7 separate regions of the Homo sapiens genome follow, and all the other regions are linked to region 1. Evidence: promoter capture Hi-C in 16 types of primary human blood cells and fetal thymus (Javierre and others, 2016). All regions are on one chromosome and are shown on one strand. The core of a region is centred on a gene start or on the middle of the fragment in contact, and the rest is flanking DNA. Distances in the headings are between cores, read along the strand shown.

Region 1 (3,936 bases), core at 1,017-3,516:
GGGTAGGTAGGGGAGGGCTAGTTGCGGAACGAAACTGTAAGCTGGACCGGGTGTGAGGAGGTGAGGTGATAGAAGGATTATAGGGTGGGGGAGTGGAGGCAGAGGAAGAATTGGGACCTGGCTCAGCCTGGCGAGGAGCAGCCTGGGGAGGAGGGGAGAGGTTAGATGGGTCCATAGAAAAGGAGGATTCACAGGACTCAGAGCTTGGGGTGGAGACTGAAGGAACAGACAGGAGAGAAAGAAGATTTGGGATGAGTCACATTGGGAGCAGAGATTAGGAAGGGACCAATGTGTAAAAGAATGCCTGGACATCAGGCACCTCAGACTATTTGCCCATTTTACGACAATAATTATCTAGCTCATGTAGGATGGAGAAATTGAAAGTGCCGTTTTCTGGCTATTTGGAACCATTGTTGAGTCTGTATTGGGGTCAAACGGTATTGCAGAAGAAAATAAGGCGTTTAGGTTTTAGGTCAGGTGTGAGTTGAAGAGGTTTTAAGTTCTTGAGAACACAGGCTAAGGGAGAAGAAGGGGGAATGGAGGGTGGAAGGTTGCCCATAGTGAAGGAGGCAAGCCCAGAGAAAAGAAGGTAGAGACCCGGAGAAGGGGGGTGGTGAGCAGCCCTGGGCTGCAATGTGGCTGAGCAGCCAAAGCAGGCGACCCACAATTGACTTGCCACCAAGGGAATGTGGGTGAATGACCAAGGCAGGCATCCCCACGGTGATCAGACACCAATGAAATGTACGTGAATAATCAGGCAGGTGTCCCTGCAGTGATTAAACACCAAGGGACGACTGTTTTCCTGAGTCCGTGACCGGAGCTGGAGTTTTGGGTCCATGGATAAAATATGTCTCCTTTGTCTCTACTAGAGAGGAGAAAGAACTGGAATTGGAAATAGAGGGAGATTTAAGGGTAGTGAGAGAGGCTGGAGAAGACAGTGAAAAGACCGCTTACCCGATTTGAAATTGGTGAGATGTTCCTTGGGCTGTTTGGTCTGAGGACCCGAGGTCATAGGTGGATCTCCTCACAGAGTGAGGGTGAGGACAGGGGACTGGTCTCCTGAAGGAGTCCTCCTGTCCCGGGTCTTCGGCACCAAATGTCACACGTGTCCGTGTGAAGAGACCACCAAAAGGCTTTGCGTGAGCAATAAAGCTGTTTATTTCACCTGGGTGCAGGTGGGCCGAGTACGAAAAAAAGAGTCAGCAAAGGGAGTTAGGGGTGTGGTAGCTTTATAGGATTTGTGTGGGTAGTGGAAAATTACAGTCAAAGGGGGTTGTTCTCTGGTGGGCAAGGCGGGGGCCGGGGGGGTGGAAGGTCTACAAAGTGCTCAGTGGGGGAGCTTCTGAGCCAGGAGAAGGAATTTCACAAGGTAATGTCATCAGTTAAGGCAGGAACCAGCCATTTTCACTACCTTTGTGATTCCTCAGTTGCTTCAGGCCATCTGGATGTATACATGCAGGCTTGGGCTCAGAGGCCTGACACAAGTTGGCACATTTGATCCTATCAACTTTAGTTTGCACTTTCACTTTTGATTTAAGAACATACTTTCTGTTTCTCAGAGGGCAGCCTCTGATGGGAATTTTAATACTCACAAGCATCAGTGGCTATATGATTGAATGTACTTCTTCAGTGTGAGTAAGTGACAACTTTCTGTAGCATGATATCCCTTATGGACACGATCCCCATTCAAAACGTTTTAAAACTATTTTATTGGGGACATTTATTAGCATGTTAAAACTCTTTTACAACCTATTAGAGCATATGCATAGAACATAAAATGTACACTGCCAAGAACAAATTTAAGGATAGGAAGAAAAGCTTACATTTTTTAAAAAGTATAAATTGAAATGTATGCAGTGTAATTTAAATTTGATTACGTTAACCTCCATTTCATCAGGACCACGTGTCGCGTTTTAACAAGAGTTTCCCTATCATGTCCAGGCTTTGGCTCTGGTTGCAGGCGCTGGGTAGGCACTTTTACGAGGAGGGACCTGGCACGATGGCACCACAAATTCCCAAGTGTGTCACCTCTGGGCGAACTTGGGCCTGTCCACTCGGCCCTGCGCGGTGGCCAGGGGCTCACCCTCTCGCACCGGGCGTCCCTCTGCGCGCAGCTTCTCTCGCCCCCCCGCGCCAGACCCGGGCGAATGGCAGCACCGTGGGACCCTGCCTTGACCGCCCCCGCCCTTCGGCGGCCTCTCCCAGCAGCCGGCAGGCTCTTGGGCGCGCCAACAGAGGGGCGCGGCTGCGGCTGTAGTCGCAGCCAGTTCCCGTTCCGGGCCCGCGAGGCAGCCGCCCCGGTCCTGCCCCTCCCTCGCGCTACTGCGGGAGCAGCGTCCTCCCGGGCCACGGCGCTTCCCGGCCCCGGCGTCCCCGGACCATGGCGCTCTCCGGGCTCTTCTCTAGCTCTCAGCGGCTGCGAAGTCTGTAAACCTGGTGGCCAAGTAAGTCCCAGCGACTGGGGATTCGCGCGGGGCAGGCCCTTTCTGAGGTCCTGGGCGCTGCGAGTGAGGAGGCGCAGGGAGGCGGGATTTGCGTGCGGGCGGAACGCAGCGCGGCTCTGGAGGAGCTCTGGGTGGAACCAAGCGGAGAAACCCGCGAGTTTGAAGCATGTAGCGAAAGTTGAGAGGGATGAACTTCACAGTCAGCGGAATCGTTTATCCCACTGTGGTCGAACGCAGGGGTTCTCAATCGTGCCAGCAGCTTAGAACCACCTGGGGAGCTTTTAAAATCCAGATATCCAGGCTGCACCCTAGATCAATTCCATCAGAATCTCACGGAGTCAGACCCAGGCCTCCGTATCTTTTAAAAGCTCCCCAAGTGATTCCAGTGTGCAGCCAGCGTTCGAGGGTTTGTGGCAAAGGCTGGAAGGGCAGACAGGGGCCTTCATGGAGTCCCGCCTGCAGACGGGACAGCAGCTCCCAGTGTCCTGCTTGGTCCTGGAGAGAGGGTGAGAACTTCCCTTGGGTTTCATGCTCCACAAAGTAAGGAAATGAGACAATGCTTGGCAAGGTCGCCTGAATATCACATTCAAAAACGCCTCCAATGTGTGCAGTTGTTTTGGCACATTGTGAAAAACATAGGAAATGACAGAGGTTGATGTCTCATTAGCTCTGCATTCTAGGAAACATTTCGGTTGTTGGTGTTTGAAATTAAGTCTGGGGAAGCTAAGCTAGTAAACCCATGGCCTTGATGACTTCTGGCCTTTCTGCTTTAAGGGTGAAGCCAGGGCCGGGCGCGGTGGCTCACGCCTGTAATCCCAGCACTTTGGGAGGCCAAGGCAGGCGGATCACCTGAGGTCGAGAGTTCGAGACCAGCCTGGCCCAACATGGTGAAACCGTCTCTACTAAAAAAAAAAAAAAAAAAAATTAACCGGGCGTGGTGGCGCATGCCTGTAATCCCAGCTACTCGGGAGGCTGAAGCAGGAGAATTGCTTGAACCCGGGAGGCAGAGGTTGCAGTGAGCCGAGATCGCCCTGTTGCGCTCCAGCCTGGGCAACAAGAGCAAAACTCCGTCAAAAACAAACAAACAAACAAAAAACAAAAAAACGGTGAAGCCAGAAGTCGTGCTTGCCAAAGGGTCGAGTTTGTTCTCCCTCAAAGCCCCTGTTGAAGATTGAACTATCACTTTCAGGGAAGAGTAAAAGAGTAACTCCACGATGCATCTTAGAGAGGAGTGGATTCCCTGTTCTCACCCAGGCTTAGATGCCAGGGGCCAGGTAGCTGAAATCCAGGCAAACCAGGCATTGACAAAGTACAGACTTCTACCGAATATGCCAGACAGATAAGCAAGCTGTGTTTAAAACAAACAGCAGAGTGGTAGAAGAGGGCTCTTTCAAATATTGTAAGAAGAGTAGGTTTTATTTTTGTGGAGTGGAGAAATAAGTTCACGCTTTGGAACCCATCAAATCTGGGTCAAAACTCGGATTCTGTCACT
Region 2 (3,936 bases), core at 905-3,404, 350 kb after region 1:
TGGAAATCCATCGCGGCCCCGCGCCCGCCTCCCGCCGCCGCCCGCCCTCCCGCTCCTAGGCGCCCTCCTCCCGGGCGGGCAGCGCGGCGCTCGGCTCGGCCTGCGCGGGCTCCTCCGGGGCCGGGCTGGGCCGGCTGGGACTGTTTACATGCGGTGCGGAGTGGGGCGGGCGGCGGCCGGGGACAGCGCGGCGCCGCGCCCGCGGCTCCTCCTCCGCCCCGCCTCCCCCCGCCCCCTTGCGGGCCGCCGTGGGGGTTGGCGCGGCCGGGCCGGGACGCGGGGCGGCGGGAGGAGCGGCCGGCACCCCCGCGGGCGCCCGGATTTTCCTGGGCGCTCCCGCCCCCCCTTTATTTTTAAACAAACCCGGAGCATCCCGGGGCCCTGGCCATCGCGGTGCCGCCCCGGGCCGTGACGTCATGGGCCCCAGCCAATCACCGGAGCCTGAGACCGCGCCGCGGCTTGCGAGCCCGGTGACGTCACAGCGCGAGCCTGGAATCCGCAGCTCCGCGGGTTACCTGGAAGCGGTGCGAGCGCCCAATACCTGGTTAGCGTTTCTGTGGAGTTAGAAAGCCCAGGAAGCGTTTGCCCAAATGCGATTTAAATGCAAGGGAGGCCATAGAACTGCAGATAACTTGGACCTTGTCTGGGGCTAGCAGTGGAGGAGCTGAGAAAATCTAAGGAAAAGGGAGCTTTTCTTTTTGCAGAAACCAAAGTTCTGTTCTCCGATTGATTTAAGGGAATGTGTCTTCTTAATGCATTTATCAGACACTAATATGAATGTTCACTTGCAAAGGGCGTGTGTGATTTTTTATTTGCGTTACGTAAAGCTGAATATTTCTTAGAAATGAGCCTCATAAGACTGGCTTCAGTATTATTCAGCTTGAATTCACATTGCATAACCTAAAAAGGTCAAGAGGATAAAGCACATTTTAAAACAAGAGTGTGTGGCCCAACGATTGCACCTGTTGAGTGCTCACTGGCTGCCATATACTGGACAGGCATTACTGGATTGCAGAAAATGCACTAGGGTCCTCGCCCTCAGGACTTGAACACTACAAACACAGACACGTTATAAACATTCAGCCAGCTTTTTTCTGTAAAGTGTGTCTTCTGAACCAGGCACTGTGCACGAATTTACATTCCCACCAACACGTATATATGTTTCCTTTTCTCTGCACCCTCACCAACATCTGCTGTTTTTTGACTTTTTAATCATAGCCATTTTGACTGGTGTGAGATTGTATCTCATTGTGGTTTTAATGTGCATTTCTCTGATAATTAGTGGATGTTGAGCATTTTTTCATATGTTCGTTGGCCACTTGTATGTCTTTTTTGAGAAATATCTGTTCATGTCCTTTGCCCACTTTTTAATGGGTTTTTTTTTTTTCTTGTTGAGTTGTTTGAGTTCCTTGTAGATTCTGGATATTAGTCCTTTGTCAGATGCGTAGTTTGCAAATATTTTCTCTCATTCTGTAGGTTGTCTATTTACTCTGTTGATTGTTTCTTTTACTGTGCAGAAGCTTTTTAGTTTAATTAAGGCCCATTTGTCTATTCTTGTTTTTGTTGCACTTCCTTTGGGGTTTTAGTCATAAATTATTTGCCTAGGCCAATGTTGCAAGGAACTGAATTCTGCCAACAACCCGAATGAGCTTGAAAAGCAGATTTTTTTCTCAAACTTGTTGTCTTTTCCAGACAAGAACTGAGCCTGACTATTACCATGATTGCAGCCTTCGCAGAACCTGAGCGAGAACCCAGTGATGCCATGGCTGTGCTGGGACTTCCGACTTTCAGAACTGTGGGCTATTAAATGGGTGTTGTTTTAAGCTGTTAGGTCTGTTTAAATTCTTCATGCAGCAGTAGAAAACTAATACACAGGACAATGAAGGAGACAGGCACATGAATATAAAAATGCAATATGCTGTTGTAAAGTTACAAAATGGTCCTTAAAAAAAAAAAGTATGGGTGTCTCCAGATAGCACAAGCTTCCTTGCAGTTTTACCTGGCACCACCATTTAAAGCATAATATGTGTTCCAAAAATGAATTCCTTAAATTGGAGATGAAAATATGAAAAATACATTCCTTTTTTCCTTTTTCGGGAAAGAAGGAGTTTTTTTTTTAATCCATGTGTTTTAAAATGTATCAGTCAAATTTGCTCCAAGTGATGTGATCAGAATTATGAAGTTATGTTTATTTAACAAATAGTTTTTGTCAGAAAATGAAAAACTCTTATGAAAAATAAAATTTTGGGTACAAAGCAATTGGTCAATGAAATGGATACCGTTGGGTTTCCTTAGAAATGCACTGAGAGCAACAGCAAAAGCTTCAGAACTCCATGTCTGCATTGATTCCTCCCTCTGCCATTTTAAGTTTTATGTGCATCTGCAACTTCCTTCATTGCTCGGAGCTCAGTTTTCTTTTCTGAAAACAGGGACAACAGTGAGATAAAGTATATAAAGTCCTTATCCCAGAACCTAGCACATAGTAAGAACTCAGTAAATGCCATTATTACTCTTAATCTACTTCTTAGGGATGATGTGTAAGAAGATCAGCTAATGAATTTTTAAAGTGAAATTCAGGAGTGATATGACTGGTAATATTGGTCACAGATGAACCTAAATCTCATTTTTTTTTCCAAGTCTTTAGAGCAGGGTTTCTCAGCAGCAGCACTATTGATATTTGAAGCCAAAAATTCTTTGTTGTTGGAGGCTGTCCTGCACATTGCAGGATTTTTAGCCACATTCCCTGGCCTCCACCCACTGGATGCCTGTAGCATCTCCCTCTACCCTCCCCTCTCTCCACTGTGACAAGCAAAAATTTCTCCAGACATTGCCAAATGTCCCCTGAGTGCAAAATTACCCCTACTTGAGAACCACAGATTTAGAGAGAAAAGTCTTGCAACAGTCGTGTTTTGGTCATTTTTACTAACTAGTGGAAAGGGTATGCACATAAAGCAGCTGAAATTCATCCTGGAAAGTTCATCTGCAGAAGTTGCTTGAAATTTTGTTTCCTTAGAACAACTGGTAAAGCCACCAGTTGCTTAGCTAAGAAGATCATAAACCTTTGCCCTGCCTCCCTCCTGTTTGGGGAGAGTCCTGTGAGGCATCCCAGGTTGTAGGGGTGTATTTAGGCCTCATGCACAGGGCAGTGGTCATTTCAGAACTCTAGCCAGGTGTTTTGTGCAGCCAGTAGGTGAGGAAACACCAGGGCTACCCATACCCCCTTTCTTGTGTTCCCATAGCCTTTGGCCATGGTTTGGAAGTAGAAGGAAAATTAAAACTTCTCCCCAGCCAGGCGTGGTGGCTCACACCTGTAATCCCACCACTTTGGGAGGCCAAGGTGGGTGGATCACCGAGCCCAGGAGTTTGAGACCAGCCTGGGCAACATGGTGAAAACCTGTCTCTACTAAAAATACAAAAATTAGCTGGGCATGGTGGCATGTGCCTGTAGTCCCAGCTACTTGGGAGGCTGAGGTGGGAGAATCCCTTGAGCCCTCGAAGTCGAGGCTGCAGTGAGCCATGATCACACCACTGCCCTCCAGCCTAGGTGACAGAGGGAAACCCTATCTCAAAAAACAAAACAAACAGACAAAAAAACTTATCCCCACCAGTAGGCAGAGTTGTACAGTCTTCATTGTATTTAAGGAACGTTTCTGTTCATTTATAGAAATCTGGACTTTGCTGTCTCTGAAAATCACCATTTGCCTTTGGGAGATGTGTGTTGGCAAGAAGAGGAGACATATTCAAACCCCACTGGCTAGGACATCAGGAGCTCAGTATGGAATGCAAAGGCCACCCTAGACTGTCCTGCTAATGCTGACTCTTCTGCCCATCTCTGTTTTGAAGTTCTCCATGGCTTTTATTCTAGTGTAAGTTTGATGTTAACATATAATTTGACCTTTGATTCACTCCTATATTGTAAGTCCGTTAAATTAGCCC
Region 3 (3,936 bases), core at 868-3,367, 320 kb after region 1:
AAAATCAATACATTATATCTTTCACCCCATCTATATTTTCCACTATAGACTTCAAAAGTGGCTTTGGAATTAGCATGTTTTGAAACAGTCGAACAAGCAAGTAACATTTACACCTAACCACGAACCAGTCGCTACATACCCAGGTAACTCAGTAATGGCAAAACACTTAAAGGCTTCTGGGCCTCTCTTACCCTCTTAGTCCAAAGCTAAGTGATTATCCTTTCCTGCCCTTGTATTTGCACTTGTGCAGTTTAATGACTAGATATTAAAATTCATGCTTTATAAGCAAAACCTTTCACTTACGGACACTTAAAAAGTACATAAAAAGTGCAGACTGCATTTCTTCTCTGCCATGCTTTCCCTCAGTAAGGTCACCTGTGAGGACTCAAAACCTATCCTTAATACATTCAGAGTTCTCTACATTCGAGTCAGCGAATGTTAATTCTCCAACATAAACTTAAGAGAATAGTCAGCCACAAAATGGACTCTAAATTCAAAATGGCAAAGGCTACCAAGACAACTCCATAGAAACCCCACTGAAGCGGGAGTGAAATTCAGGTCACTTCTGAGCAAAGCTCATCACAGATATTTTGTGGTCGTTAAAAAGGTATTTCATTTTAATTTGGATGCTGGGAGCCAGATGTCCTATTTCGAAGTGCTAATGCAAAATGCTAACCCAGGAGGGGCAGTGACCCCACCTAGGTTACTGTGGGGCTCACTCTCCTTCTCAGGGGAGCCCCCAGATTTACTGCTGGCTGACCCCCATCTGGGGGTGGTCCGCCTCTGGCTCCTCTTCTTCCACGTCAGCACTGTACTCTTCAAACGCATCGTCATCTGCATCCGGAAGCCCCAGTAACTACAGGGAGAGAACAAGAGAAAAGCAGCTGTGAGCGCCAAATGGCCCACAGGCAGGAAGACAACCAAAGGCATCGGATCCACATTAAAGAGTACTTAACCCAGCAGCTGCAGACTTCCCCGTCAACCACCCCTACAATGATTTTCATAAACTTGTTAGACGGAAATGTCAATCTTTCAATGGATTAGTGCCCAAAGGGCTAGGTTTTACTGGGGAGCCTGGAGAGTCTCTATTTTTAAGTATCAAAATGTGGCACCACATATGCACAGAGAGCTAGCTATGTGCCCACACACACATCTGGGATGTCAGCAGTCGTATGAAATGAACTGTGCTCACTGTCCCACCAAGATGTCAAAAACTGATTCTGTATTTTCTGTCCTAAAAACACACGGTGCTATTATTTATTGGTGCTATTATTTATAACACATTTCTAAAAATCTAGAGACAACTAAAATGTTCAACAGCAAAATGGTTATGGTGTTATTGAAATGGAATCTTATATATCCACTCAAAATGGCATTTTTGAATGACTTGATGACATTAAAAAGATGCACATAAGTGTAAAAAAAGCATGACAAAATTGCACTTTTATTATGACAGAGTTTTTTTTTTTTGAGAGGGAGTCTCGCTCTGTTGCCAGGTTGGAGTGCAGTGGCGCAATCTCGGCTAACTGCAACCTCTAATTCCCGGGTTCAAGCAATTCTCCTGCCTCAACCTCCTGAGTAGCTGGGACTACAGACGCACACCACCATGCCCAGCTAATTTTTGTAGTTTTAGGAGAGACAGGGTTTCACCATGTTGGCCTGGGTGGTCTCGATCTTCTGACCTTGTGATCTGCCTGCCTCAGCTTCCCAAAGTGCTGGGATTACAGGCGTGAGCCACCATGCCTGACCCAGAGTTTCTTTATATATGTGTGTATGTATATATATATTTTTAATAGAGACAGGGTCTCAGTATGTTGCCCAAGCTGGTCTCCAACACCTGGACTCAAGCAATCCTCCTGCCTCGGCCTCCCAAAGTGCTGGGATTACAAGCATGAGCCACCACACCTGACCCGGAGTTCTTAAAATTTATACACATATGCATAGAAAAAAGACTTCAGTAAAATACACCCCAATTTTAAGGTTTTTTTTAAGATTGTGAGATTATGGGTAATTTTTTCCTTTTTATCTTTTTGTATTTTCCAATTGCTGTATAATTATGTGGGACGTTCAAAATAAACATCGTTTTTTAAAGCACTGGCTGGTCTTTGGTTAGAAACCAAGTGCCATTTGCTAGGCCTGATCAGTATGAACACCACCTCCTGGTGCAGGCAAGAAGCCACAACCCTAGCTGTCGGACCTGCCTGTGATAACCAGGCTTCTGTCTCCTGGTGCCTTCATGAGATCTACAGTCTGTTTGTGGCCCAAGGACTTCTTACATAGGGGTGTCCAGGGCCATCAATTTCAAGCACCTTCACTGAGTGGCCCTAATGATCTAAACACTAACTGCATCAAGACAGTAAAAAGAAGACTGACCATTCTGTTCAATTGCATTGCCTCCCTGGTGTCCTGCCACCCCCTTCCTCTCTCACTCCCTCCACGGCTGAAATGGGGAAAGAGAAAGCAGAGTCCTGATGAAAATAATGCCTTCACTCTGAAGTTCTCCAGCTGCAGCTCTCCCAGGTCTCCCAGCACCCTATGAACACATTCAGGACAAAATCATCTGCTAGGCATTGTTGGTCACACTCTGCCTGTGGCTTGCCAAGGCGTACACAGTCAACTGCAGACACACGCTCGCCCCTTAGAGCTGAGCATGCCACAGCTGCCTCAGAGACTCTGCGGATGTAGAGGGGAAGGGCAGGAAGAGCGCTCTCAGCTCCCCGGAGAGGGTGCTCCAATCTTGAGTGTGCTTGGGAGAAGAAAGTCTCTTTTTCCGGCTCCTGTCTCCCTTGCAGATTTTAGTAAATGGAATAAAAAACCAAGTTTGCCTCTAAAGAGAGAAAAGATGACTAGTCGTAAGGCACGTCGATGACTACACTTGGTGGTCAATTTTTTATTTGGAGAGCTGCTCGATGACATAGCAAGGTAAAAGTGTCAAATAAGTGGTAACATTTAAATAGCTGGTAAAATATAAATACTATCGCCACCACCAGGAACTCCAAAATTACCTAAACAATATATATAATTGTTCATTGTATTGAAGGGATGTCACTAAAGAGAAATGACCAGTTGGTTCCCTCTCACTTAACAGACCTGACAGGGAGTGGCTGCCTGGAGTTTCAGGATTCTGAGGCCCCGTGGAAAACACTGTGGTCAACTAGCAATGGCTGTCCTGCATGAAAAGGGCGCAGCTGAGGTGTGCATCTGCATATTTGCCATCTTTATCCAAAAGAGATGTACCATGGGCGATTCTGTTCCATAACACCCCTAGGTGATTCATACTGACCCAAACCATAGGTAGCACTCAACACCCTCCCTCTCTTCAGCTTAGGGTACCTTATTGAAAAAGACCCAGGAAACCAAGCACATAGCCATGACCACCTCTCTTCTGCAGTTCCTTTTTCCAGCTCCCTACCTTACCTCAGATGAAACCAGCACATCTACTGACAGGTCCCCAGGCTGGAAGTTTTCTGACTGCTCTTTCAAGAGCTGCTCACTCACTGCCCTTCTGGAAAGGGGAGAGGAGAGGCAGTTCTCTGTGGCCTTCTGGAATTTGGAGGCACCTTAGTGTAGGGTCTACAGATTTATTGAGAGGGTGTGTGGAAAAAGACACTGGCACTAGAGTCCAGAGGCCAGAGCTCTAGTTAGCTGGAGACCTCTGCCAAGTCACCACCTTGCTGACCCTCAATGTCCTTCTCTGTAAAGCGCCATGATACCTGCTCTATCTCACAGAGTAACTATGGAGATGACATGAGAGATTGAAGGCAGCCATGATCTGCAAACTATGGAGCCTTATGTAACTACACGTGATGTGATGTGATGTAATCTAGCTATATTATCTCTAAGGAACTAGGGAAACTGGGAGTGGCCAAGAGAGTCACTCCTTATCTATAAGAAACACGTGAGCCTATGGCCTATCCCAGGGAACATGGGTCGTTA
Region 4 (3,936 bases), core at 897-3,396, 300 kb before region 1:
CAAGGAATAACTTTATAAAATATATATCCCTTCATTTAAAAAACGGAGTCTGTAGGGAACACTAACCCTACAGATTCATAAGTATTTGCAGCCTGAATATTTTTTTAGCTTGTAAGCTCTGCATCTAACACTGACACCAGCGATGATAGAGACAACTGAAGCAGGTCAATGTGAAGAGCACAGAGAGGCAGTCAGGACTGACTCACTTTACACCCCAACCTTAAAAACAAAAGGCAAATGAAAGTCTTCAGTAGTAGGTTTTGGAATTAAACGATACCAGTATTTTCCATCCTTGCCTATATCAAATATTCCCTTTGGATGTTTTTTAAAAATACAGATTCTCTCACCTTACTGACACTTACTACACCACAACAGCAAGGATTTAAATTCCCCTAAGTAATTTGGATAAACACAGCTATGCATGCAGCAATATGCAGGCTGGCCTCAGGGACCCAGCCATGTGTCAGTCCCCAACCCACTCGCCCAGTGACACCCAGTCTTGCCGAGCCGTGGCTGGACATGGGGCACTCTGTGATTTTGCAGACTAGCCAGGCACCTGACAAGGAGTCTGGCAGAGCAGGCCCTCAGGGCATGCCAAGTCCTCCCCCTTCCTACTCCTCTCATCCATGCAGCAGGACTCCAGGACTAAGACCCACAGCCCATGGACTACAACCAAACTCAACAGATTCATCAGACAAAACCCGGGACAGTTTTACTATTCTTTTCAGTAAGAGATTAAAAACAAAAACTATTTTGTCTAAGATTAAATGAAGCTTACAATAAAGAGAGTTAGGGGAAAGATCCTATATTTATTGTAGCCTTCTTGCTTTTTCTCTCAGTAAGAGAGACTTAAGCCCCTGAATTGCCTGACTATCCCTTATGCTTTTTCACATCACTTGGCTCACAACAGACACAGCCTTTATATGAATCTAGATATTGTTTTTCAAAATCTCAATTTACATAGGCATTTTTATCTATCCTATACCTAAGAGGTTAGAACAAGTTACTAGAAATATTAACATTAAATTGCAGGGCTTTCCTGGAATCAGGCGAGCTTTGTGCTGAATGAATGTCAAAATTATTATGTAGTAGATATTAATGAGTAATTTTCCTGTAAAATATACACTCCGATTCATTGTATAACAGCTAATAACTGCTGTATAAATCAGGGCACTTATCAGTATCTCATGAAAATATCTTAAGTATCTTAAGATAACAACTACTTTAGGGAGACTATATTACAATGAGGGAATAAAAATAGCTTGAATGTCAAAGACACTTTTGGGAAATTAGGTAAGGTACATTTACGTTAAAAGCCCAATGTAACCAGAATGGTTAACTGAATTTTCTGGGTAGTTGTCTCACTCTCTGCGCAAAATTCTCCTAAAGTGTACAGTCCACTCTCCTGCCTTAGAATACAGCAGACGGAGGATTGCAGAGCATCTGCTGCCTGGGTCACCAGTCTTTCCACAGGACTTAGAAAGTACTTGCTACAGGACAGGAGACAGAGGTGCCTGCATGTCACCCCAGGACCCAGAGGACAAAGGCCTTCTATTTGATGTCTTCACTGAGCCTCTGATAGACTTCACGGGGCTGCCATTGCCTACTTCTCCTCAAAGGGGAGCAAGAGAATTTCTGGCAACCTGAGTGCTCCTGTAGGTGCCAGTTGTTTTTAGTTTATATGTTTGCCTGAAATTCCATCCTTTACTTTATTGAGAGATGCCTGGCATAGGTTCCTCCCTGGCCTATGACATGTACTTGCGTAGTTTTCAAGTGGTTCAGTGGATCTTCTGGGTGTCTTAAAAAATAGCCTTGGTCCTACCACCATACGAATCCAATCTGCTGAAGTCTCATTTGAAAAAAGGATTACAGTTAAAATATGCTTGATCATCACTCCTACAATAGAATTGGGAATCAAAACACCTGGTTCTAGCCTCATCCCTACCTGGTAACCGACTGTGAGACCTTGGATAGCCAACTCTCTCTGGCTCACAGCTCCCCCTCCTGAGAGAAGGGAATTGATCAGTGGTTTAAAGCTGGACGCTGAGAGGCTAGACGATAAAGCAAGACCTCCTTTTCCCCACTTCAAATAGGGCATTTTCCCTTCTTTGCTTTGCATATTGGACTTCCACATGAGATATCATTTTATTGCTTTTTTAAAAAATTGTGATAAATGCTGAACTATATCATTTTCTTTTTGACTCTGACACTATGCCCAACCACACAGCAACATTTGCTGGACAGCCCATTCTTTTTCTGTCTTCATAACAAATTAAAAATTTAAGTAGAAAGTGTAGTTTCATTCATTCGTATAGTCATTCATTCATTTATTCCACAAATATATTTCACTATGCCATCGGACAACACTTTATGTTTGGGGATAAAATAGTGAACAAAAAAGACTGCATTTCTGGCTTCTGCTGTGTCCAAGGTATTGGCGGGGGGCAGATACTAATTTTAAAATCACATAAATATTCTATTGCCAATGTGATAAACACAAAAACAGGAAAACTAGAGGGTGCCATGAAAGCCTATAATAGCAGGTTGGGGGAGATCAAGTCTGGGGGATCAGAGAAGCCCCCTTCCCGCCCAAGAAAACACAGTTCCATTTGCTTTTCCAACTCTAATGCACCTGGGTTAGCTGAACCCAATTCCCTCCTCTACCTAAATTATATGTCACAGGAGACTCAAGACTAAGGTATTACTCAGAACTGAAGAAGGAAACTCTTACATAAGCAGGGCATGGAAAATTTTAGTATAACTGGATACGATATTCTTAAGTACAGTCTTACTAAAAATAGCCTCATGTTGGGAGGAGGGAGCACAGGGAATAACTGCGGGAGGCTGAGCACTGCCACAGGCTCTGTTCAAAATGAGCCCGACAACCACACACACACAACACGCCAATGGGCGGCACCAGCTGACCGAGATGGAAAACCCACTCCCGCTGGGGATCTGTCCACATTTGGGGGGTCCGTTTCTCTCTGACCGCAAGTGTGACAGGCCAGGAGAACCTCAAGCCTCTCCTGTCACTGGCAGGGCCCATGAGTGCTTTGGCAGTGCCAAACTCAGTTCCAAGACTCCACACCACACCTTAGAAAGCACATACCTTGTTCTCCTTATAGAGAAATTCAAGATGCAAAACCTTTCGAAGATCATTTCTGTTGTTTATGCTGAGGTCAGAGCGTGGGCGTTCCTGGTCCATGGTCACACATGTCTTCTTTAAGCCCTGAGGGAAGAAAGCTGAATCGCTGTTTACCATCTTAAATCAAAACCCGCTGTTCTCATAAAGCACAAGCAAACGATTCCTGATGTTCACCAAGATAATTCTCATATAACCTTTACACTTGACATCACCTTTGCAATAATTAATATTATTCTGATTCTTACAACAGCCCCATGGGCTAAGTGAAGGCTGAAGTTTTCAGGCCATTTCGCAGATAAGGAGTGAGTTCAGGACTCGCGCACAGGAGTCCTGGGTTTGGCCCTACATTTGGAACCATAGTATATGAAGCTTTAAAATTAAACAAAAGAAAAAATGTAAACAAAAGGCTAATATTCATTCCCTTCACTCTCAGATGGGGAAACCAGGAGATGGGGTTGACTTGCCCAATGTAACACAATGGAATCACATCACAGGTGGGGGCTGTAACCATCCCAAACTGTGAGTCCATGACTCTGGGACCCAGGCCCATGAGAAGCTCTTGGTAAATGCTAAGTCATGAGCAAAGCCACTTTCCATCATCCCACCCTGAACTGCCAGAAGACCAAGGTTCAAGGCCCAGCTGAGACATGCTCTAGCAATGGAAAATCTGGGGTTGGCGAAGTGAGGGTCCTGTTCGCAAGTGCCTGGCTTCTCTATTTGAAAAACAACCACAGCAGTTGCTCTCTGCCCACCTCACTGGGCCATGGTGATTGTCAAATGGCTGGAGGCTG
Region 5 (3,936 bases), core at 781-3,280, 280 kb after region 1:
ATCACAGGCTTCTGTTCTCAAAGCTGCCATGCCACATGTGACCAGGCAGAGGCTGAGTTTTCTGTAGCAGTAGGAAACACGTCTGCAACACACTGTCACCTGGGGGCGGGGAGGGGAAGACCAAGCAGCATTCTCTGGGCATCTCACCTCCACCTTCCATCATATAGTCATACCCCAGCATCATGGGTCATTTTATAAAAGCAACTTCCCCAGCTTCTGTTGTTCACCCTTCTTTCTTAGAAGAGCTCAGAAAACTGTCCATGGAACCAGAGAAGGGCACAGCCCCCCACATCCCTTCCAATGAGACCTAGAACTCCCCAACTCTAGGCATCACGTCTCCCTCTCAGTCAGAGCAAAAGATTCCAAAAAGAAAAGATTCCAAAAAAGAAATCAAATATCTGTGGGCCTGTGGGCCTCAGCAGGTCACCAAACAACCCAGGACCAGTCTGAGTTTCCTTGTTTAGGCTCAGCAATGGTCATCTCATAAATGATCTGTAATGTCCTTCATTACAGATGGAGAAAAAAATGCATGAGTGCATGAGGGTGGTTTATAACAGTGGCAGCATACAGAGCGACCTGGCAGCTTTGTGGCCACACAATGATGGCTACAGTATGAGGAAGAGAGAACAGGGCTGGCTTTGGCATAGGAACCAAGGGGAAACGGCAGATCCCAGGGGCGTTCTTTAGGAAACGGCAGCAAGCCTGCTGATAGATGAAATGCATCGGAGTCCTTGGCAAAGTGGTTTCTATTGAATCTGAAATTGTTTGGGCTCTTTTGAAAATACTGGTGTTAATCCAAGTCTGTTGTTGCCACTGCATTTTCATTTCCTCTTCTCTCTTATATTTCTTGTTGCTTACATTAGTCCTGAATGGTTTACCTGCCATTTTTTACATAAGCAAATATTTTTAACCTCAGTGAGGTCACATCCTAACATTATTAACAGACCTTTTGTTCATTTTGAGTAAGAGAGAAAACTCCATTTTTCACATAGATCTTCATTAGACTTGAATAGAAAAAAAATGATTTGGTTTTCTCCTTTAAGATGTATTAAGCATCATATAATGCTACCATTCATTGGGGGTTCAAGTGATTTTGATGGAGCAGTGAATGAAGGGAACATCCACCCCAAACTGCTCCTCTCTTTATCCTTTGCCTTTTATTATCCTCCTTCCACACTACTGCCCCCAAAGAAAGTCACCCCACAAGTCAGTGAAAATCTGCCGTGGAACCTTCCTGAAATGGCACAGAGTCTATTCTCTTGCTCCATGGCAAATCTGTCATCCAGCAGTTGGTCATTTTTCCTCACCTATATAATGAAGCTTAAGATTTATTACAAACTTGGTCCAAAGCCTAATTTCTGTTCATAAAACCCTGTCATTCTTGGATGAACTATGCTGTTTTAGGGCCAAGATTGTAATGAAACACTGGCTTGGCTGTTCCCAACGGTGGGATTTAGGAAATCTAAGAGATGCTGTCTTCAACAGTGAACAAAGAGGTTTAGATCACCTGGAATCACTGGCTCTGAGCTGTTGGTGGAGTTAGCCTCCTTTTGTCCACAATGCTCACATTTCCAAGCCTGGATCCTCACATCTATTGAACAACTCATCTTGAGATGGGTCCCATGCCCTTATTTCAGATCTTTTGAAATTAAGTGGAAAGGAAGTAATCATCTTCCTTCCTTATCCTGCTGCCTTGGAACAGTTTTTCACCTCACAGCAGCAAATCTGTGGCAGCCACTTACTTCATTCATCTCCAGATGGGTCCCTTTATCTATAAATGTGTTACTGTAACATTTTCTAGACCATAAATGGCTGAAGACATCAGACAGAGCTGGCATAGAATGTAATAAAGAGTAGGGATTTTGCTTTATTCAACTTTATATGTTCTGTAGGCCTCAGTACCTAGTGGGTACTAAATAGCAGGTGGATGAAATAATGTAATAATGAATTTGCTACTGATTTTTCACCTGGAAAGACATTAAGGCACTTTACACAGTCTCCACCATCTTTTAGGGTTTTGAAGTTTGTGCTTGTATTTCAAAAAAGAAATCATAAATAAAAGAAACAACTTGGACCTTAGACAAAGCCAGAAAAACTCAGCTCTGAAATAAGTCGTGGCAACAACCCAGCCATTGATTTCTTTACCTGGAAATTTACAGGAATAATGAGTTGCTGCCTCCATAATGATTGCAAATTGCTGCTTCTCAGTCACTTAGCTTAGACAAGCTAATATTTTCTCTAACCCCAAACCAAGATGGTCAGAGCCACAGAACAATATATTGTAAGAAGAGAGGTGTGCCACACAACATTCCTTAAAGCGTGTTCCACCTAGCAGCATCACTGGGACCTATCAGGGTCAGAGTGTTCAGTGGCCAAGTGAATTTAGTTCACATCGCATATTATAAATACCCCCATCTTGGACATGTATGATGATGCACTGTTGCATATTACAGACTCTGAGAAGTTGACCTGCTAAAGAGATTTGATCACAGAATCCTATTTTCAAATAATGTCTATTACCTTTGGACAGAAGCTACTTTAAGAAAACACTGCTCTGCCCTGAAGGTCATCAATACCATTTTCATAAAGGTGAAGCAGGGATTTGCAACCTGCAATGTGTTTGTGCCAGAAATGGCATGCAGGCCCCTGGCTACCAATACATATTCCCTTCTCATGAAAGGTGACCCTGACCATCTGCCGTAGGAGTGTAGGCCAGAAGGACCACAAAGTAGGAAGCTTGACAAAGGCTGGCAACCCTGAGGTACAGCCAATAAGCCCCGGCTCAGGTTGAGTGTGCACTCATTCCTAGAGTTACAGCAACGTTCTGTTGGTCAGGCTGGACCCTTGGCCAGCCACAGGAATGGGCCACAGCCCTGGAAGCACATCTGACACTTACATCAGGGGCAGATCAGAGACTGGTGCATTTCCTGTAAATATTGGATTTGGGAAAATATTTGTGTTATTTGCTGTTACTTTGAAATAAGTCTACAACCTGTTAGACTAGATGGGGAAATATACATAGTTTTCACTATAAATTTCAAATAGTCTTACGGAGTCCTGATAAGATAAGTAAGCAACAATGAGGAAGGAGCCCCAGGTTGGGGAGAACAATGACCAATTTTTCTGAGAGATGGCTAGTCACAAACAACTGGTGGGCACAATGACATTGTTCCACATGTAGCCCCCTTCAGCATGACCCTATAAAACTTCCCTCCAGCCCCTGCCTATTTGCAGACAGTCACTTCTCTGTTGTGCTGCTCATTGCAACCTTGCAACGTATTTTCATAGCTTCTCTAATAAATCTGCCTTTCTTTATCTACAACTGTCTTGGTAAATTCCTTTATGGCCCATGACACCAGCCCCAGCTATTCGCACCTACAATATTTCTTTGGCTCTTACAGGGACCTCTCTCCCCTTTCCCTTTCTCTCTTCCAACTGGGGACCCTTCGTGGACAGCACACAAAAACAGAAACAACTGACAGTCTCTGGCAGGGCTATACCCTGATGAAGCTAGAAGGTGTCCATGTGGAAGCATCTTACCACCATCACCTGATCAGATGAGGGACCTTAGTTCAGTTTCTCCTTTTCAGTCTTCCAGCAGCCAACGTCTAGTATCCCTTTGTCAACTTACAGTAACTGGTCAGGGCTGCTCTCTGGTGTTGCCTGAAGTCCAGGGGGTAAACAGGGTTGGCTGTCTTTCCCAGAAGGGAATAAGGCTCTCTCTTATCCTTTCTAGTCAAAAGCCCCCAATCCTTACTTATAGCATGATTGGTGGTGAAAGCTCAACCAAGACAAACCTGCACATGTTCTGGGGAACTCGGACCACCTCTTTCTCACTCTAAATTCTCCCATGAAGACAGCCAGACTTCCTGCTCCAGGTGTTCCCAAATCAGGTGATCTCAAGTGGCCACAGAGCAGTGAGTCTCCCCATTCCTC
Region 6 (3,936 bases), core at 782-3,281, 260 kb after region 1:
ATAACTGCTGGATCATATGATAAGAATATATTTGTTTTTGTAATAAAACCATCTTCCAAAGTGTCTACCATTTTGCATTCCTAGCAGCAATGAATGAGAGTTCTTGTTGCTCTAACTTCTTGTCAGCATTTGGTGTTATCAGCATTCTGGATTTTGGCCATTCTAATAGGTAGGTGGTGTTATCTTGTGTTAATTTGCATTTCCCTGATGACACGTGATGTGGAACATCTTTTCATATACTTATTTGCTAACTGTATGTCTTCTTCGGTGAAGTGTCCATTAAAGTCTTTGACCCATTTTTACATCAGGATGTTTGTTTTCTTATTGTTGAGTTTTAAGGGTTTTTTTTTTTTATATATTTTGAATAAAGTCCTTTATCAGATATGCCTTTGCAAATATTTTCTTCCAGTCTATGGCTTATCCTTTTATTCTCTTAGCAGTGTCTTTCACAGAGCAGAACATTTGAATTTTAATGATGTCCATTTTGTCAGTTTCTTCTTTCATGGATTGTGCCTTTAGTGTTACATCTAAAAAGTCATCACCAAACCCAAGGTCATCTAGACTTTCTCCCATGTTATCTTCTATGAGTTTTATAGTTTGCATTTTACATTTAGGTCTGTGATCTATTTTGAGTTAATTTTTGTGATGGGTTTAAGGTTTGTATCTAGATTTATATTTTTGCATGTGGATACCCAGTTGTTCCAGCACCACTTTGTTGAAAAGACTATCTTTTCTTCATTGTATTGCCTTTGCTTCTGTGTTAGAGATCAGTTAGCCACATTTATGTGGGTCTATTTCTGGGCTCTCTGTTCCGTTTTATTGAGCTATCTGTCTATTCTTTCACTAGCACCACACTTTTGTGATTACTGTAGCTTTATAATAAATCTTCCATTACATAGGGTTGGTCTTCCAACTTTGTTCTTCTTCAATGTTGACTTGCTACTTCTGGGTCTTTTGCCTCTCCATATAAACTTTAGATCAGTTTGTCAGTATCCACAAATTAACTTGCTAAGATTTCATTGACTTCACATTGACTTTATAGATAAAGTTGGGAAAGAACTGACATCTTGACAACATTGAGTCTTCCTATCCATGAACATGGAACATCTCTTTATTAAGTTCGTCCAGGATTTCTTTTATCCAAGTTTTGCATTCTTCCTCATGTAGATCTTGTGCATGATTTGTTAGATTTATACCTAAGTATTTCATTTTTGGGGTAAATAGTATTGTGTTTTAAATTTCAAATTCCACTTATTCATTGCTGGGATTTAGGAAAATGATTGACTTTTGTATACTAACCTTGTATCTTGCAACCTTGCTATCATCACTTATTAGTTCTAGGAGTTTTTTGTTAATTCTTTCAGATTTTCTACATACATAGTTATATCATTTGCAAACAATGGCAGTTTTATTTCTTCCTTCCCAATCTATATATCTTTTTTTCTTGTCTTATTGCATTAGTTAGGACTTCCAGTTAGATGTTGAAAATAATTGGTGAAAGAGAACATCCTTGCATTGTTCCTGATCTTAGCAGAAAGCTTCTAGTTTCTCAACATTAAGTGTGATGCTAGCTGTGGGTATTTTGCAAATGTTCCTTATCCAGTTAAAGAAGTTTCCCTCTATTCCTACTTTGCTGAGAGTTTTATCATGAATAGATGTTGGAATTTTTCAGGTGCTGTTTCTGCATCTATTTATACGATCATGTGATTTTCTTCTTTAGCTTTTTGGTGTAATGAATTACATTAATTGATTTTTGAATATTGGACCAGACTTGCATACCTGAGATAAATCCCACTTGGTCATGGAGTATAATTCTTTTTATACATTGTTGGATTTGATTTGCCAAATTTTTTTGAAAATTTTTGCATCTATGTTTATGAGAAGTGTTGGTCTGTAGTTTCCTTTCCTTGTAATGTCTTTGGTTTTAGTATGAGGGTAATGCTAGCCTCATATAATGAGTTAGAAAGTATTCACTCTGCCACTATTTTCTGAAATAGATTGTAGAGAACTGGTATGATTTTTTCCTTAAATTTTGGAAAAATTCACCCATGAACCTACCTGGGCTTGGCACTTTCTGTTTTGGAAAGTTATTAACTGTTACTCAATTTCTTTAATAGATATAGGCCTATTCAGATTGTCTATTTCTTCTTGTGTGAATTTTGGCAGATTTTGTCTTTCAAGGAATTCATCCATTTTATCAGCTTATGAAATTTGTGGGAAGAGTTGTTCAAAGTATTCCTTTGTTATTCTTTTAATATCCACAGGACCTGTAGTGATATCCCCTTTTATTTTTAATATTAGTAGTTTGTGTTATTTCTTTTTTTTCTTCATTAGTCTGGTTTAGACACTTATCAATTTTATTATTGATATTTTCAAAGAATCAGCTTATGGTTTGATTTTCTCTATTGATTTTGTGTTTACAATTTCATTGATGTTTGCTCTAATTTCTATCATTTCTTTTCTTTGCTTACTTTGGATTGAGTTTGCTTGTTTTTTTAAATAATTTCCTAAGGTGGAAGCTTAGATTATTGATTTTGATCTTTTTTCTCTTCTAAATATGCATTCAATGCTATACATTTCTCTCTCAGCACTTCTTTCACTGCATCTCATAAATTTTGAGAAGTTGTATTTTCATTTCCATTTAGTTAAAAAATATTTTAAAACTTCTCTTGAGATTTCTTATTTGACCTATGTGTTATTTAGAAATGTGTTATTTAATCTCTAAGTATCTGGGAATTTTCCTGGTATCTTTATGTTGTCAATTTTAATTTAATTTCATTGTGGTCTGAAAGCAGACACTGTATCATTTTTATTTTTTTTTTAATTGTTAAGATGTGTTTCATGGCCCGGAATGTGGTCTATGTTGGTGTATGTTCCATGCGAGCTTGAGAAGAATGTGCATCGTGCTGTTGTTGAATGAAGTAGTCTATAGATGTCAATTATATCCAGTTGATTGATGATGTCACTGAGATAAGCTATACCCTTACTGATTTTCTGGCTGCTGCATATGTTCATTTCTGATAGAGGTCTCCGACTATAATAATGCATTCATGTATTTGTTTTTGCTGTTCTATCAGTCTTTGCCTCACATATTTTGATACTTTGTTGTTAAGCACATACACAATAAGGATTGTTTTGTTTCTTAAAGAATTGATCCTTTTATCATTATGTAATAACCCTCTTCATCACTGATAATTTTCCTTGCTCTGAACCCTACTTAGTCTGAAATTAATATAGTTACCCCAGCTTTCTTTTGATTAATGTTAACATGGTATATCTTTCTCCATCATTTTTCTTTTTTGTTTTTTGAGACAGGGTCTTGCTCTGTTGCTCAGGCTGGAGTGCAGTGACACAATCATGGCTCACTGCAGCCTGGACCTCCCCGACTCCCACCTCAGCCCCCCAAGTAGCTGGGACTACAGGTGCATGCCACCAAACCTGGCTAATTTCTTTTTAATTTCTTTGTAGAGACAGGATCTTATTATGTTGCCCAGGCTGGTCTTGAACTCCTGGGCTCGAGAAATTCTCCTGTCTTAGCCTCCCAAAGTGTTGGGATTACAGGTGTGAGCCACCATGTCCAGCCATCACTTTGCTTTTGACCTGTATGTGTCTTTATATTTAAAGTGAGTTTCTTATAGACAACATAGAGTTGAATCTTGCTTTTTGATCTGCTCTGACAATCTCTGTCTTTTAATTTATCTATTTAGACCATTGCCATTTAAAGAGATTATTGGTATATTGGATTAATAGCTATCCTACTTGTCACTATTTTTTATTCATTGCCCTCATTCTTCGTTTTTATTTTTGTCTTCATCTCTTTTTCTGCCATATGGTTTTTATAGCAGAATTCATTTTATATGATTCAATTTTCTCTCCTTTCTTAGCATACCAATTATACCTTTTTTTAAAAAAAAGTTTTTAGTGGTTATCCTAGAG
Region 7 (3,936 bases), core at 425-2,924, 260 kb before region 1:
TCTCAGATTCTTCACCTTGGCAGTTCCCTGTCTTGGCCTGGCAGGCAGTAGGGGCCTGGTGGGGGGGCTTGCAGCTGCTTGTGTGAAGAACCAGCTGGCTCTTTACGGCTGAGTTTTCTAGGACTGCCCAGAACCCTCCCACATTGCCTGCCCTCCTCCAGGCTCCCACCAGGCACATGGGAATGGGGATGGGGGTAGTTAGAGGGGTTGCAGGTTTCCAACTTGAGGCCCAAAGATGCAAAGTTACTTCTACAATGTCATTCACCTTCAATATCGCCAGCTGTAGTCAGTCAAAGGTTGGGTGGTGCCAGGGCAGGGGTTTTCACCCTGGATATGCATTAGACTTACCTAGGCAGCTGTAAAAGTCCTGAATCCTTGGCCTTACCCCAGACCAATTAGATCAGAAATTCTTGGAGATGCCACCCAGGCATCAGCACCTTGTAAAGCTCCCCTGGTGATTCAAATGTATGGAAGATTGAGAACTGCTGGCCTGGGCTGGTGCTTCTCAAACTGTACTGAGCTCACGAATTACTTGGGAGTCTGTCAAAATGCAGATTCTGAATCTGCAGATCTGAGGGGGGCAAATAATTTGCATTTCTGAAATGTCCCTAGGGATGCTGATGTTGCTGATCCAAGACCCATTCTGGGTACCAAGGGAACAGAGCACAAAGTACTTCCTTTCCACCTACCCCCAGCCCAGGCTTCACACTGTTAGTAAAGCAGGACTGTATGATAAGGTGTCTGAGTGTAGACCGATGATCCCTGATGTCCTAGATCCTTCAGGGCCTAGGCTCCTGAATGATTCGAAAAGGTCTTCTGAACCATGACGGAGCCATCTGTGCTGCCTCTATTGATATGTCATTGGGAGCATCCAAGAATCACTCACTCCTTCTAGAAGTTCATCTATAGAGCAGCTCTGTATTTCAGACCTACTTGCTGTCCTCTCCCCACCACTACAGTATCCAGCTGCCTCTACTGGCCTAGCCCGAGGACCCTCAAACTGAGCAGGTCCAAAGGCACACTGCCCATCTCCTGGTCCCCCAGCCTTGCTTCTCCTCCCCTCTCCCCAGCCCAGCAAGGACACTCCTGTGCAACCCTTATCCATGCCAGACACATGACTGCCACCCTAGCCTCTTCCTCTGTCACCGTTGGTCTGCACCACCAGCTTCCCCAGGCCTTGACATTACCTCCTAAACAGCTCTCAAATCCACCTAGTGGCCCTCATCGCCCCGCCACTGCCCTGATTCTGGTTCTATTATCTCGCCTCAGCACCTACCCCACCTCCAGGTTCTTGCTGTGTAAAGGGTGGTCCAAGGAGCAGCAGCAGCAGCATCACCAGGGAACTTATTAGAAATGCAGCATCTCGGGTCCCAGCCCAGACCTGCTGAATCTGATCTGCATTTTAACAAGCTCTCCAGGTGATTCATACATACATTAAAGTCTGAGAAGCACTGATCTAGAAATAGAGAGATGATGACAGGAAACAAGAAGGGAAAGAGAAAGCAGAAGAGAAGGGAGGTCCTTTTTAGCAGCCTCCATTCCTGGCTCCCTCCTCATATTCCACATCTCAGCTCAAAAGGTACCTATCCCTACTCTTACCACATAGAGTAGATGTTTCCCCCTCTCTTTCTCCATTCACTATCACATCACCCATTTATTTCCTTCATCTCACATGTTATTCTATTTTCTGTCTCTCAGTGACATAGAAATTCTGAGGCAGGAAACTGCTCTCCCTTGTTTGTGGTTGTGTCTAGTGCCTAGCACATGGTACATGTTGAATAAATAAATTGAATATGTGAAACTTATTATAGACTTCTGCTGCTGCAAACTTCACCTTTTGAACTAAGCAGTTTCTGAAGCCATCTAGTCCAATAGCTTTGTTTTATTCTTTATATCGCAAATGGGCCATGATGTAACAACTTGATGCTTTAAGCAGAACATCAAGACTTCAAAAAGCAAGCATGTACCAGAATGGGATCGATTGCAAAAACGACCACAGATTCTTCCCTTTCCAGTGGGCACAAGTCTTTGCAATATGACTTTGCCTCTTCTTCCATTAGGAGGTAGAGCTATTTCTCTCCACCATCTCCCTGTTCCTAATCTGGACTTGACCACATGACTTGTTTTGGCCATTAGCAAAAGTGATGCAAGCAGAGGTTTGAAAAGTGCTTACACACTGGAGCTTGTCCCCTCTCTTCCTTCTTGGTATTTACCCAAAGAAGTTGAAAACTCATGTCCACACAAAAATTCATGCACAAATGTCTATAGCATCTGTATTTATGAATTGATACAACCTGGAAGCAACCAGGATATCTGGGACTGCCCAGATAAATGCATAACTATAGTGCATCCAGACAATGGGTTATTTTTCAGGACTTAAAAAAACGATGAGCTATCAAGCCATGAAAAGACACAGAGGAAACAAACTTTCTTAATTGAAAGAAGTTGATCTGAAAAGGCTGCTTACTCTATGATTCCAACTATATGACATTCTGGAAAAGGTAGAACTATGGAGACAGTAAAAGATTAGTAGTTACCAGGGGTTTGGGGGAAGGAGGAATGATCAGGTGGAGCACAGAGGATTTTTATTTTTAGGTTAGTGAAACTATCCTATATGACACCACAATGGTGGATATGTGACATTATACATTTGTCCAAACCCATAGAATGAACAACACCAAGAGTGGACCCTAGTGTAGACAATGGAGTTTGGGTCATAATGATGTGTCAACATAGGTTAATTGATTATAACAAATGTACCACTCTGGTGGGGGATGTGAATAGTTGGGGGTGGGGACAGGGAACATATGAGGAATCTCTGAACTTTCCACTCAGTGTTGCTGTGAACCTAAAACTGCTCTAAAAAACAAAGTCTATTAAAAAATAAGCGCTTTCACAGTGGGACTTGTTCCCTTCCTTGCGGCTCTTAGGAACCCTGTGGCCCTCAGCGTATTAGTCCATTCTCACGCTGCTAATAAAGACATACCTGAGAATGGGTAATTTATAAAGAAAAGAAGTTTAATTGACTCACAGTTCAGTATGGCTAGGGAGGCCTCAGGAAACTTACAATCATGGCAGGAGGGGAAGTAAACACGTCCTTCTTCACATGATGGCAGCAAGGCGAAGTGCTGAGCAAAAGGGGGAAAAGCCCCTTATAAAACCATCAGATCTTGTGAGAACTCAGTATCACAAGAACAGCATGAGGGTAGCTGCTCCCATGATTCAAATACCTCCCACCAGTCCCTCCCACGACCTGTGGGGATTATGAAAACCACAATTCAAGACGAGATTTGGGTGGGGACACAGCCAAACCATATCACCCAGCATGTGGGAAAGCCCAGACTGGCCTGCTGGACACTGAGGGCTGTGCCATGCCATTGCCCCAGCCAACATCAAGTCACTGCCAGACATGTGAATGAGGGCATTGCAGACCCCCAGCCCCAGCCAAGATGCCAGCTGAGTGCAGAGAGTAGCCCAACCAGCCCTGACCGCTGTGCTGTCCTGACCGCAGCATGGCCCAGCCAACCCACAGCATCCTGAGAAATCATAAATGTACTAAGCCTCTATTTTGAGGTGAGTTGTCACTACACAAAAATAACTGAAATACAGATAGCTTTTTCAGATAAGGACAGCAGATTGAGCACATTTGAGCCTCGTCCTTCCTAAAACCCCACTAAATGGACAATAAGTAGAGTATTTAAAAGCAATAAACTGGTAATGACAAGTGGGAGAGGAGACAACAGCAACACAATGTTGGAAGCTGGGGAGCAGGTTGATGAGCAGGTACCTTAACTTACCAGGCCAGGGCAAGCTGCATCGTAAGCTTGCCATGGTGGAAGTTGGTAAGCAACTTGACTTCCTCTAGGAAGGTTGCGAGAATGGACTGGCTACTTCTGGAAAGGGTGAGGGTGGGCTGAAGGTGGGCTCCCAGCAGGT

The links. The method cuts DNA at HindIII sites, captures the fragments that hold promoters and counts their contacts. A CHiCAGO score of 5 or more calls a contact.
Region 2: a contact is called between a fragment that was not itself captured here and the fragment with the promoter of NOD1 in region 1, in 11 of 17 cell types (naive CD4 T cells, total CD4 T cells, total B cells and 8 more). The highest score is 19.7, in naive CD4 T cells.
Region 3: a fragment that was not itself captured here is called in contact with the fragment with the promoter of NOD1 in region 1 in 16 of 17 cell types (total B cells, naive B cells, naive CD4 T cells and 13 more); the score reaches 24.8 in total B cells.
Region 4: a fragment that was not itself captured here is called in contact with the fragment with the promoter of NOD1 in region 1 in 4 of 17 cell types (activated CD4 T cells, total CD4 T cells, non-activated CD4 T cells and 1 more); the score reaches 7.3 in activated CD4 T cells.
Region 5: a contact is called between a fragment that was not itself captured here and the fragment with the promoter of NOD1 in region 1, in 10 of 17 cell types (total B cells, naive B cells, non-activated CD4 T cells and 7 more). The highest score is 18.2, in total B cells.
Region 6: a contact is called between a fragment that was not itself captured here and the fragment with the promoter of NOD1 in region 1, in 9 of 17 cell types (naive B cells, total CD4 T cells, total B cells and 6 more). The highest score is 11.9, in naive B cells.
Region 7: a contact is called between a fragment that was not itself captured here and the fragment with the promoter of NOD1 in region 1, in 6 of 17 cell types (non-activated CD4 T cells, naive CD4 T cells, activated CD4 T cells and 3 more). The highest score is 9.2, in non-activated CD4 T cells.

What each region holds. Positions count from the first base shown.
Region 1 is chr7:30,477,114-30,481,049 of GRCh38, reverse strand. NOD1 (nucleotide binding oligomerization domain containing 1) reads left to right here and starts at 2,266. Exons shown (of 14, transcript NM_006092.4): 1 at 2,266-2,444. RefSeq lists a silencer at 2,138-2,377 and an enhancer at 2,026-2,770. The HindIII fragment of the contact is 7,069 bases long and covers 1,821-3,936 here.
Region 2 is chr7:30,131,212-30,135,147 of GRCh38, reverse strand. LOC105375216 (a long non-coding RNA gene) reads left to right here and starts at 434. Exons shown (of 3, transcript XR_927146.3): 1 at 434-544; 2 at 1,693-1,831; 3 at 3,665-3,936. MTURN (maturin, neural progenitor differentiation regulator homolog) reads right to left here and starts at 162. Exons shown (of 3, transcript NM_152793.3): 1 at 1-162. The coding sequence starts at 11. RefSeq lists silencers at 1-244, 15-264. The HindIII fragment of the contact is 339 bases long and covers 1,985-2,323 here.
Region 3 is chr7:30,154,358-30,158,293 of GRCh38, reverse strand. MTURN (maturin, neural progenitor differentiation regulator homolog) reads right to left here. Exons shown (of 3, transcript NM_152793.3): 3 at 1-856. The coding sequence ends at 746. Among named protein-coding and RNA genes, the nearest start is that of MTURN, 21 kb to the right of the region's middle. The HindIII fragment of the contact is 6,470 bases long and covers 1-3,936 here.
Region 4 is chr7:30,777,725-30,781,660 of GRCh38, reverse strand. MINDY4 (MINDY lysine 48 deubiquitinase 4) reads right to left here. Exons shown (of 18, transcript NM_032222.3): 2 at 3,110-3,229. INMT-MINDY4 (INMT-MINDY4 readthrough (NMD candidate)) reads right to left here. Exons shown (of 20, transcript NR_037598.1): 4 at 3,110-3,229. Among named protein-coding and RNA genes, the nearest start is that of MINDY4, 8.3 kb to the right of the region's middle. The HindIII fragment of the contact is 2,741 bases long and covers 776-3,516 here.
Region 5 is chr7:30,198,251-30,202,186 of GRCh38, reverse strand. LOC124901607 (a long non-coding RNA gene) reads right to left here. Exons shown (of 3, transcript XR_007060274.1): 1 at 1-3,936. Among named protein-coding and RNA genes, the nearest start is that of MTURN, 65 kb to the right of the region's middle. The HindIII fragment of the contact is 1,416 bases long and covers 1,323-2,738 here.
Region 6 is chr7:30,216,956-30,220,891 of GRCh38, reverse strand. All of the region lies in intron 1 of LOC124901607 (a long non-coding RNA gene), which reads right to left. Among named protein-coding and RNA genes, the nearest start is that of ZNRF2, 66 kb to the left of the region's middle. The HindIII fragment of the contact is 981 bases long and covers 1,541-2,521 here.
Region 7 is chr7:30,736,017-30,739,952 of GRCh38, reverse strand. The region is part of intron 1 of LOC105375220 (a long non-coding RNA gene); the gene reads right to left. Among named protein-coding and RNA genes, the nearest start is that of INMT, 14 kb to the left of the region's middle. The HindIII fragment of the contact is 4,303 bases long and covers 1-3,825 here.